2 separate regions of the Homo sapiens genome follow, and region 2 is linked to region 1. The links are contacts of gene promoters, found by promoter capture Hi-C in blood cells and fetal thymus (Javierre and others, 2016). All regions are on one chromosome and are shown on one strand. The core of a region is centred on a gene start or on the middle of the fragment in contact, and the rest is flanking DNA. Distances in the headings are between cores, read along the strand shown.

What was found. The method cuts DNA at HindIII sites, captures the fragments that hold promoters and counts their contacts. A CHiCAGO score of 5 or more calls a contact.
Region 2: a fragment that was not itself captured here is called in contact with the fragment with the promoter of PKP1 in region 1 in 1 of 17 cell types (fetal thymus); the score reaches 5.1 in fetal thymus.

What each region holds. Positions count from the first base shown.
Region 1 is chr1:201,279,960-201,285,827 of GRCh38, forward strand. PKP1 (plakophilin 1) reads left to right here and starts at 3,547. Exons shown (of 14, transcript NM_001005337.3): 1 at 3,547-3,945. The coding sequence starts at 3,744. RefSeq lists an enhancer at 3,388-3,917. The HindIII fragment of the contact is 6,778 bases long and covers 2,616-5,868 here.
Region 2 is chr1:201,414,375-201,420,435 of GRCh38, forward strand. It overlaps TNNI1 (troponin I1, slow skeletal type), which reads right to left. Exons shown (of 9, transcript NM_003281.4): 2 at 3,409-3,438; 3 at 2,742-2,745; 4 at 839-880; 5 at 144-275. The coding sequence starts at 3,419. Among named protein-coding and RNA genes, the nearest start is that of TNNI1, 4.3 kb to the right of the region's middle. The HindIII fragment of the contact is 214 bases long and covers 3,094-3,307 here.

The DNA of each region.
Region 1 (5,868 bases), core at 2,297-4,796:
TGGTGGTGCGCACCTGTAATCCCAGCTACTCAGGAGGCTGAGGCAGGAGAATTGCTTGAACCCGGGAGGCAGAGGTTACAGTGAGTCAAGACACACCACTGCACAGAGTGAGAGTGACAGAGTGTAAATTCTGTAAGAGCAGGAACTTTGTCTTCCTCACCATTGTATCCTTAGTACCTGGGACAAGGTCTGTCACATAGCAGATGCTCAGTCAATACTTGTTGAGTAAATGAACTCATATTTCACTTTTTAATGAACATAGAGATGACAGGATGTGAAGTCTGGGAGCCAGAATGTTGAAAGGGAAATCTGGGTCACACTTAATGCTCTAAGGAGGCAGCAAAGAGAATTAGAAGCCCGTTCATACTCATTCCTTTGAGGATGAAAATATACTCATCTTATTTCAGAATCAAGTCAAAATTAACTTCTTTCAGGATGCTTCCCCCTGATCACCCCCAACACCTTCCAAGCCAAAATTAACCCATATCCATTAGAATTTTAACATCTAAATATATGTTCTGACAGTCACCTGAAAGCATGCCATTTCAGAGCCAGGATCATGTGACTGTGCCTCCTTGACATCTTTTCTTCACTTTAGGAGTGTTAGCCTCCTTGCTGGTTGATTTCTGAGACAGGCCCCACATAGGGTGGGGCTCAGGCAGGCAGAAGAGAGAGAGAGATTATGGAAATAGCATTGGCCTGCTGGCTCAAAACCATATACCTGAGCCCCAAACCAATCCTCCCAGCCTGAGTATATCTCCCTCACCGTGGCCCAGAATGTGTAACCTGACTTCTCTTTCCTCTCCTCCTCTGTCAGAAGGGCCTGATTCAAGATGTCCTGCCCTACAAATCCCCACAATCGACAGAATTATAGAATGTTGGGGCTAGAGTGGAGTTTAGGAGCCACGAAGTTTACCCGCTCTCTTTGTAGATTGGTGCAAGGGACGGAGGAAGGCACTTGTCTAACATGAAGCTAGTTAGTGACACAACTAGATCAGGAACCCAGCTGGCCTGACTTTCGTGCCCTGTGATGGGAATGGATGCTGTTAAAATACCTATCCAGAGAAGGATCTGCTTGTCACAGAGAAATCTCGAGGCGGCAGCCTGGCACTGCCACTGAGTGTCCAGCTCTGGATTGCAGTTGCCTTGTCTGCCTGTTGCCAGCTGGGTGGCCTCATGGAACTTCAGTTACCTCATCTGAAAAAGAAGGGTGATGGTGCCCACCTCATAGGGTCATTGTAAGGATTTAAATGATGTGGTTCGTGTACAGGGCTCAGAACAATGCCTGGTTGGTAGGCATGGTGTTTGGAGGAGCATAGTAAATGCTATTGCTATCAATATGTCAAAATAATGTCAATATTAACATAGTAGAGAAGTAGCTAGAAAAACTGAACTTCATACCTGGAAACAATTTTAAAGATAATCAGTTCTGCTTCCACGGACTTGCCTTTTATAGGAAGATGAGCTACTCTAATCCCCTCCTTCAGGGCCCTTCTATATCCTAGAATAGGAAAATTATCGTTATTTAAAGATGTAATTAACATTTATTATGGCTAGCATATTAGGTTTTAGATAGGCCAAATGTGTGATACAATAGAATTGTATTTTTATATGCTGCTGTGTATACTTTACAGTACATTGGGGCCCTTATATAATCGGTGTGCACTGTACTTTAATGTCCATTTTATAGGACTTTTATAAGGGAAGCTGGATGATGTGGTGGAATGAGCACTGTGCCAGGAGTCACAAGGCCTGGTTAGGATGCAGGCTTTGCCACATATTAACTGGGGCATTGCAAGCAAGCTACCTCCTCTCCTAATCAGTGAAATGCAGTGCTTGGCTGGATGAAGTCCAAGGCTCTGTCCAGTCCTGGCGGTCTATGGCTAGAGGCAGAATCTTACAATATGAAGTGATAATAGAGGTTTACAGGTATTTTGTACACATCTATGACATATTTTTTATCACATCTCTGGTTTACTTGAGGTTAAGTTCTTAGGAACAGCGCCCTCAATAATAAAACTGTTTCTATTGGAAACTATAATCTGCTTTACAATAATCTGCTCTGCAAATTGCTACTAGGAATACCTTCCTTGGGAAAGCTGGGGCTCCCCGCATGTAACACCCACATCTCAGGAGTTGCGTGAGTGACCTTCATGTACATGGTCCCTGAGACAGTCATTCAGTCTTCTTGATCCTTCCTCGACATAAAATTCCCAAAAAGAATAGATTTCTGATTGTCCTTTCCTCTGTAGATTAGAAGAGCAAACTAAAAGTAAAATATGTGAGCTGTGAGCGGCAGCCTCAAATGACAGCAAGAGTGACGGCTGTGATAGTGTCACACACTGGTGGAGGCCCCAAAACTAAGAAACTGACCGGACAGCACGACTACACAGTTCAGTAATGGATGTCCAGAATGAGAAACCCAGGGCATCAAGAAGTACAGCAAATATGTTCAGTGTTGTTTGCTTTAGGAGGCAAACAGAATGCGATACCTTTTAGAAAGATTTCCATCAAAGTAAATACTTAAAAAAAAAAAAAAACACTCAGCTCCTGTTACACACCAAATTCACTGATGTGGGCTCCCTCCACGCCTGGAGAGGATGCTACATGAATAAAGCTTCACTGCACATGTGTCCCCAGGGGTGAGTGTATATAGGGGAATGCACACAGTGGTCCCAGAATAATAAGTCCAGAGTGAAATTTCAGGGTAAAGCAGCTTTTCAATTTTTCAGTGAGGATCTGGTTAGGATCCGAGTTAGATTTAATTTACCTTAAATTAACTAGCATTCACGTATTCACCTATTTAAAATATTTTTTATTAAGCGCCTAATATTATGTGTGCCAGGCATTGTTTTAGAGGTTATAGTGGAGTTTCAGAGAGGATCCGCTGTTCACGTGGTGTTTTACCGGGGTATACTCATGAACAACAAATAACCACCGGTTTTACCAAGGCATACCCACTGTGTGGTCTGATATCCCAAGTCTGCTCCTTGATGTGGCCTTACTGCCCCTACCCCACTTTCTTCAGAGGAAGCTCCTTTAGAGTAGACTGGGTTACCCCCATAAGATGGAGCACTCCTTTGGAGCAAGAGCTATGGTTCTGCCATCAGCCCGGGAGCCTCCACCGCCGGGGTTGGTCTCTGCTATGACCTCAGTACAGAGGGAGATGGACGCCTGGCTCTCCTGGGCAGCCTGGTCAAGAAAGACTCCTTTCTTTCCTAGAGAGAGGTCTCCCTCGGTTCCTGAGCTGAGCACATGCTTTCTCAGTGAGCCGGCAGAACAGGACAGAGGGGCGTCTCCCTGGGGCCTCAAGGCTTGCGACGTTTCTTGCTCATGGGGAGAGGGAAGGGAGAGAAAAAAAAGAGCGAGCAGGAAGGCGCCCAGCGTCCCACACAGGGGACTCGCAGCCCTGCCCCCAAGAGCGCTGGCTCCGCAGCAGCAGTGCCCTGCAGCTCCGCGTCTGAGCAGCAGCAGCGCGCGGCCCGGTGGAGTGGGTGGTGCAGGGCAGGGGTGGTATATCCTGTCTGACGGAGGGCGGGCCTCGCCAGTGCCAGAGAGGGACGAACCAGGGTGGAAGCGCCAGGAGCAGCTGCAGGGAGCCCTCACGCGGACCACGCACTCTATGGCCGTAGGGAGCCGCTGAGAGCGAGAAGAGCACGCTCCTGCCCGCCCGCTGCACCGCACCTCGCCTCGCCTCTCTGCTCTCCTAGGCCCCGGCCGCGCGCCACCCGCCTCCCGCCACCATGAACCACTCGCCGCTCAAGACCGCCTTGGCGTACGAATGCTTCCAGGACCAGGACAACTCCACGTTGGCTTTGCCGTCGGACCAAAAGATGAAAACAGGCACGTCTGGCAGGCAGCGCGTGCAGGAGCAGGTGATGATGACCGTCAAGCGGCAGAAGTCCAAGTCTTCCCAGTCGTCCACCCTGAGCCACTCCAATCGAGGTAAAGGCTCGGCCCCCGCGTGGTCCGTGCGCCCCTTTCCAGAGCACCCTGGCCCAGTGGCGGGGACCAAGAGACGCACGCATCCCCGGGGATGAGGGGAGGCGAGGGGCTGCCGGCCCCAGGCAGGGTCTACGCACCTAGTGCGAGCAGCCGAGCTCCCAGCCGGTTCTGAGCTGGTGTAAACGCGACCCGAGGCTGGCTCGACGGCCCCGCGAGCTCGATGGCGCGCTAGTGGGCAAGGATGGGTGATTCACCGGGACACAGCCAGGAGCATGTCCCAGCGTGCCAGGAGGTTGAGGATCCCCCGCGAGCGGTTCTCCTGTCCCTGAGCCCTGGGTCTGGACGGCTTTCTCTTTCGGATGCTGCTCTAGGGATCTGCCCTGCATCCTGTCTGGCCCCGGCTGTCCTGGGGCCCATGGTCCCCGCGCTCGCAAACGGTTGTGGGCCACCCTTCACCCTTCCTGGGCTTGATCTCCTGGCCTTCAGCTGGAGGCCGATGCCCAGCGTCCAGGCCAAGGGGAACCCCAGTCCCTGTGGGGCCGCGCATGAGTATCCGCGAGCGGGGTGAGGGAGTCGCTGAGACAGGAGTGCAGCTCAGGAGAGGCGCTGCGGGACGGGAAAGTGGCACAGGGAGCAGGGACGAGGGCCTGGAACTCCAGGGCACTTTATCGAGAGCCTCCTGAAAGAGGCTAGCCTAGTTGGAAGGCCGCCCCAGGGCCAGTGGGTCCCTTGACGACAGGGAAGGGGGTCAGGGATGCTTTCTTTCCCGAATAGCCAATGCAGAAATCCTCTTTCCCACTGGATTCTTCTTACCCCACCCAGCTTAGGTAGAAACAAGTGTCTCATGGGGAGAGTACGGAATGGCAGGTTGGAAATCCCCCCGGGCCCCAGGGAGACCTCCAGCTGAACCCTCACGGGCACTTTTCCAAGCTGGATCCCGGGCCTGGCACCCCCTCCTCCAGCCTCTGAGAGGCCAGATCCCATGACTGGGGGAACCTGGGAGAAAGGGGCAGCACCCAGGAAACTCAAGGAGGAAGGGGCAGTACCTGACAGGGGAGAGCTTATAGACCAAGTAAACACTTTGATACAAAGGATGCCTGGTAAGAATTACACACAAGTGAGCAAAGATTCCACTTGTTTATTTATTTACTTATTTTATTTAGCTAAGTTTAGTAAAATGCTAATAAGACTTTACCCATTACCAAACAGTACAGGTCAACCAAGACTTATGTATTAAGACAGGCCTTAGGAGAGAGTGAGGGGCAGGGGGTAATAAGGTGGAAGGAGACAAAAGAAACCGACCCTGGCCCTTCCACCACACACACACACACACACACACACACACACACACACACACACACCTCACACTTCCTTCTACCTGTGGCTTCTGTCCCCCCACCTACTCCCTAGCCCCCATTCCTGAGTGGCCCCTTGTAGAGCCGAGGGAAGGAAAATGGCCGGCAGAGGACTTCCTGGGCCCCAGACCTAAAGGCCTTTGCTTCTCTGTGTGCTCTTTGCCTTTGTGTGGGCTCCAGGCTCCTCTCGTCACATTTCCACTCAAGATCATGCCACCTCCAGAGCACTTGCCTCCTTCCCTTTTATTTGGTGCCTTGGTAGGTGCCTCCTAGCCTCTTTAGAATTAGGTTTGGAATAACAAAGTGCCCCCATTTCTGGCTACAGCCCAGAGCACAGCTCAACCTACTCTCCTCTCTGCACAAGACTTGGCTGTCCCCTTCCCACTCCCACTCCATCCCAGCCTGAGCTCTTGGCTCACAACTCCAGAAAACTCAAACCGGCCCTGGGTGCCCCAAGGACCCCTTTTTCCTCCTACCTATCGGGATATTGGCTGAGTGTCTGTCAGCAAGAAGTGCACTTTCTGGGCTTGGTCTTTGTGGGGAACTTCTATCTGATAAGGTCTCCTTT
Region 2 (6,061 bases), core at 1,951-4,450, 130 kb after region 1:
AATGAGACCATGTAAGGGAGGAGTGCCCTGTAAATTATGGAGCCTTGAGCTGGTGTTAGTTCAGGCTCCTGCCGCCTGGTCCTTGGAGCCACCCACACAGCACCTCCAGCCCCACCCTGCCCCGCCCCACCTGCCAGGCTAACCTGCAGGGCACTGAGGGACAGGCCACGGGTCTGCAGCGTGGGGATGCGCTCTGCCAGGTAGCGCACCTTCTCAGCCTCGCGCTCCTCGTGCTCCTGCTCCCAGCATTCCTTGGCCTTGGCCAGCATCAGGCTCTGGACAGGACACACCTGCTGAGCTGGGGGCCTCACATCTCCCACCCGGCATCAGGGAATGAGGGGAGGGCAGCCACAGCCTGGGCCAACTCTGAGACCACTGTCCAGTGTAGAAGTGTATGCAGCAGCCATGGACAGGCCACCATGAGGGTACACCCAGTGGCTGCACACAATGTTCCTCAAGCCCTGGAACTTGTTTTCCCCGGACAGTCTTCCTCTTATCCACTTACTGTCTGTTTTGACCCACAAAACTCCAAAGAGAGAAACACATATGAAAATAAAGGAAGTCCCTCTGCCTGCATGAGTAGCTTCCCACTCTGAAGCTGGTCACCACCTACTCTAGGGACCACAGGCGGATGCCAGAATCCATACTCGAGGATCCCACCTACTGATCACCTGAGCCTGGCACTGGCTCCAGCAATGCTGGACTCCTGCCCCTCATCATCCTCACTCTGGCCTCCTTCCTTTCTCCTTGCCATAATCCTCCACATCCCTTCAGAGTCTGCTCTGCTGCCCCTCTGCCTCCCACTGGGCATCCCCCCACAGCCAGCCCCCAGCCTCACCTTCAGCAAGAGTTTGCGGGAGGCAGTGATCTTGGGTTTTCTCTGTGGGCAAGAAGAGAGAGAGACAGGTGGTGAGGCAGAGGCTGCAGAACTGGAATTCTGGTCTAGGACAAGACAAGTGCCAGCCAGCGTTCTCTATCTTTATCCGGAATCCTCTGCTCACCCTACGGTGCCTTAAAAGCTCATCTTTGTTATTTAACCTCTGCAGTTCAGAGAAGGCTGCAGTCAGCTACCTTGACCTAGGGGCTGAAGCCTTAACTTCCCACTCTGATTCTGCTGCTGCTGAAATCTTGTAAGATACTATGAGGGCCACATGGCTTCTACAGGCACCTCCTTCCTCATCTGTAAATAAGGATATTAGGACCCCCCCCCTTACTTAGTTCACAGAGTTATTGCAGATGAAATGAGATCATGGATGTGCAAATCCTTTGAAAATCGTAAAAGCTATGTGTTTTCACACTCCAGGTAGTAATACAGCAATACCTTGATGATCCGTCATGCTGCATAAATAAGCTGTGAATTTCCCAAATAAATGAAACGTATCTATGTAGACCTCAAAACTTTTAAAAATGTTAACACCACCCATACAAATCTTTCTAAGATATAAAACCACTGTTTTATCTTCTTATCAAAAATCCTAAACATGTTCTTGCTTACTAGTCCTAGCCCTGTGACAGTGGTCCCTCAGGGTTGGCAAAGGTGAGTAGTAGGGCTGCTTGGTCCCCAACTAATGAGACTGTGATGCCTTTCGAGCACTAGAGTATCTTCTGGGCCATAGGCGGTCACTTCTCATTGCCAGCAGGAAGCATCCTACCTAGACTTAATGTGCTGTGAGCCGGCAGAGCATGGCTCTCAAATGTTATTCCAGGGTGTCAAGTAGAAGTGATTAGGCTTTGAGAGGGAAGTTCTCATGAGAGACAATGGATGAGTTTCAGCAAATGGAATGTGTAACTTCTATTCTGACTGTTCAGAGTGGTTGGTTTGTCTTTTCCTCTCCTAAAGATTTTTGTTACATTTCAGATAAGTGCAATTTCAAAAGAAAGAGCCTATGACTCTAAGCATTACTACCATGGTTTACACACTGTAATGTACACATGGCAAATGTTTGACTGCGATCTTATTTCCCCACCACTTGGTGAGCCGATGGCCACCTCATTTGACCATCAGTCAGTGAGGACTCACTTTAATACGAGCCTCAGCAAAACTTAAAAATTCATATGAATGTTGAAAAGTAACATGTTCAATTCTTACTGAGAATCTCTGTGCCAAATATCCCCTCCATCAATACTGCTAATTCTCACTGTTTCCATCCCTGGGCCCACATCCCTATCCCTGCCATCCCCATCCTTGGACTGTACATAGGCTGTGATCTCAGTAGCCTGGTAAGTCTGGAGTGTATAGAATGGCCAGTGTCAGGGTTTTCTAACACCTGAGGGATTTAAGGACATCTCTTTGCTCCTCAATCAATGTTCAGCCATTGGGCAAGGGTGGAATAACCCAATGACTATCCCTTACCCTTCCAATATAGCTTTGCACAGGATCAGCTCTGCATGGAATAGGATGGTCCCCCCAGGACTGGACCAGCTCTCAGAGTGGGTGAGGAAGAGCTTGTGCTCAGCAAGGATGCAGAGTCACACCCAACCCTGCTGCAATACCAGTCCTTCCAGTGACATGGTACACTGGCACAGCAACTCCCTGGACACTAGGAAGCCCCACATCCAGAATCTTCACCTGACGTTTCCATCTCCTGGGAATTTGTTCAGCCACTAAATACCCTACACCCCCTGGACTCCCACCAGGCCTTAACACAGGCTCTTCCCTCTCCTCAGATGCCAACCCCACCTTCCCACTTTTACCAGTCGTTAGAGTTAACCAAGACAGAGATACCCCAAATATCACTTACCTCGCTTCAGGCATCCATCACAGGAAGGACGGGGAAAGAGCAGAACACAGAGTGAGTATGAACAATGAGGATTACATGTGCAGTCGCAGAACCTCACAGACCAGCTTGGGGGAGGAGGGGGCCAGTGACAACAGTGAGCCAGAAAGTCATCAGGCATCAGGCAAGGGGAGCGGTTTGAGGTTCCGGCAGAATAAAATAAAAATTCAACAGCCCTTTGAACTACGGGGCATTCTTATTGGGAGGTACTGGGCATCGTAAGTTGGGGACAAGTGGTGGAAGGGGAGGGAAGCCTTAGCGTAGGGTTCCAGCAACGTGAAAGCATCCATCCACGGGTGCGTGGGTAAATTCCCAAAGCTTTGTTCACCTACTGCACCAGTGTTAAGTGGTGGCCTGGTACATGCAATTCATGTGATAGATCAAGACAGGAAATCTCTGAGGCACAAGCCAAAAAGGCACTCCCAGGGCAACCTGGGAGTGAGTTCTGCTCAATGGCTGGGAGGACACAGGCAGCACAGGGGAAACCATCAAGTGCTGCCCCTGTTTGAGGACCTGGTCTCTTAGGGAAAAGCTTTGGGGGTTGAAAACATGGTGCCTCCACTGCGGGGCTGAAGTCTGTGGCAAAGGGACTTGCCTTCCTGGGGCCCCAGATGGCAGTGAGACTACTTACACTTCCGGCATGGTGGCAGTGAGACAGCACCTAGGGGGCACAGAGGAATCATTCATAAGGGAAAGTGGAAACCCCTGCCCCTGCCCAGCTGGGCCTTGGGAGCCCAGCCTAGGAGACAGAGTCAGAACACAAAAGGAAGAAATCAGACACATTGGATTCCAGCAGGTCAAGATGGGACAGGGTTGCAGGGCAGGGGTCAGCTAACTACAGCCCATAAGCCTGACCTGGCTCCCAGCCTGTTTTTGCTTAAAGAATTGTAAGCTTTTTTTTTTTTTTTTTTTTTAAGAATTTGCAACAGAAACCTTATGTGAGCTACAAAGCTATCTGGCCCTTTCCAGATAAAGCTTGCCAATCCCAGTGGAGAACAGAATGGAGTCCATAGGAAATATGTTTGGAAAGTGAGAGCAGCTGGGCGCAGTGGCTCATGCCTGTAATCCCAGCACTTTGGGAGGCCAAGGCGGGCAGTTCATGAGGTAAGGAGTTCAAGACCAGCCTGGCCAATATGGTCAAACCCCGTCTCTACTAATGATACAAAAATTAGCCAGCATGGTGGTGCACGCCTATAGTCCCAGCTACTCAGGAGGCTGAGGCAGAAGAATTGCTTGAACCCAGGAGGCGGAGGTTACAGTGAGCCGAGATCGCACCACTGCACTCCAGCCTGGGTAACAGAATGAGTCTCCTTCTCAAAAAAAAAAAAAAAAAAATAAGTGAGAGTGTAGCTCACTCATGAGGGCCTTGAAGGACAGGCTGAGTTTAGACTTTATCCTGTGGAATAAGGGTGGTCATTGAAGGGCTCAGAGAGAGGAAGGCCTAGAAAGTGAATGAGCAGAGTGGATGCTGGAAAACGGGTAGCTGCCACATGGCACAACTCCATCCACAGATGGCAATGCAACTGGCACCTCCAGGGTGGGGCAGTGGGAGGCCTTGAGTGGGAGAGAATAAGCCGCAAGGCAGGGCAAATCCCGTGTTCACCCTAGTCTGTCTTTCCCCTCTCTGGGTTGGTTTTCCTCTCTGCAAAATTAGGGGTTAAATCAGTGAGTTTCCTCTTGATGTTTATTATTAATAATAAGTAATTAAAATAATATTTAATTAATATTATTTGGTTGAATCCTTTGTCCTAACCAAATCTTACTTGGAAGTAAAATAAATTCAATCAGTAAAAGCAAAATGGCATTTTGCCTATCAGAAGGTGGAGGGTGGGAGGAGGGAGAGGATCAGGAAAAATAACTAATGGGTACGTCTCTCATACCTGAGTGATGAAATAATTGATACAACAAACCTCCATGACACATGTTTACCTGTGTAACGAACCCACACATCCTGCACATGTACCCCGAACTTAAAAAAAAGTCAAACAAACAAAAAGAGCCAAATGGCACTGGTTGAAGGGGGCTCCCATAGCAGCCCTCTGGTCTTCTGTGAGGACACTTGGCTGTGGAATACAATTTGAAGCCCCCTGACCAGGTGATCCTGGGGCCCAGGCCAAAGAGGGGGTCCGTGAGGCTGCAGAGGGAGATGTTCCAAAACCAGACATAATTCACCGTCTTGCCTGGGCCTGGACACAGGGCATTCCAATGCAGGGGAAGGGAGGAACTGTGCAAAAGCTCAGGGAAAGGAAGGGGACAGCTGAGGTGGAGAGCAGGTGTGCAGGGGCGCACAGGAGCCCTGAGCCAGGCTGTGAAATGAAGGATGGGAGAGCCTAGTGTGTGTGGAGTGGGCAGGCATGGAGCTCGGGGGCAGGAGTTTGGACTTGGTTCAAGAACCTTGTTGTGGGGTCTGGGAAGTGGGGAATTAAAAGACACTTGTAAAGTGCCTGCCAATAATTGTATCCCAGAGCCACCCCTTCCTCTGCCCTAATTCTCTCCTTTCCCTTTGTGCCCATGAAGCACTATCCCAACCCCAATGAACACAGCTTTGGCCACCTCCCCTGAATCTCCCAACGGGTCAGAAAGCCTTCTGGGCCTCCCTCCACCTCTGCCTCCGCCACCAGGGGAGGGTAAGGCTGGGGTGGAGGAGGTGGAGGTGTAGTGTGACCCCAGAGTCTCAGCTGTCATGCTGGGGCACAGAGGGAGGGGTATGGAGACAATCCATGAATTCCTGAGATGCTTGGCTGGTATTAGATTTTATGGGCAGCTGCTTATTCTTAGGGCTCTGCTTCTCCAAAGACACTGAGGAAGTCCAAAGGAAACACCAGCTGGCGAAGAGCCACCTCCAGGCCCATCTGTCCATCATCAGCCTCCAGGAATGCCAGTGTCCAGAGGGCACCAGGTCTGCGTCTGTCTCCCTGGGATGTGCCTTGTCCTTGGTGGGCATTTGGCAGTGATCATGCCTCCCTGTCTCCCTCAGAGATCCAACTGTCCCCATTGTGGGGCCCTACCTTCCAAGGCCGGTTTACACCTCCTGCCAAGCTCCGGGGCCTGCCCCCAGCCTGCCTCACTGACAAATGCCAGACCAAGGGGTCCCACGTCAGGCAAGAGGCCTCAGCCTGTGCTCTGACACCCCTCAGACGGGGGCCCTTGCCAGGCTCTGTGGAAGACAAGCGAGGACTGATAAGTCAGGATGAAGATAGCAGCCACTGGAAGGCTTGGAGAGCCAGGATTCCATCTCCTCTACAAGTAGCAAGCAAGGAGATAATGAGAAAATCCTCCCCCCG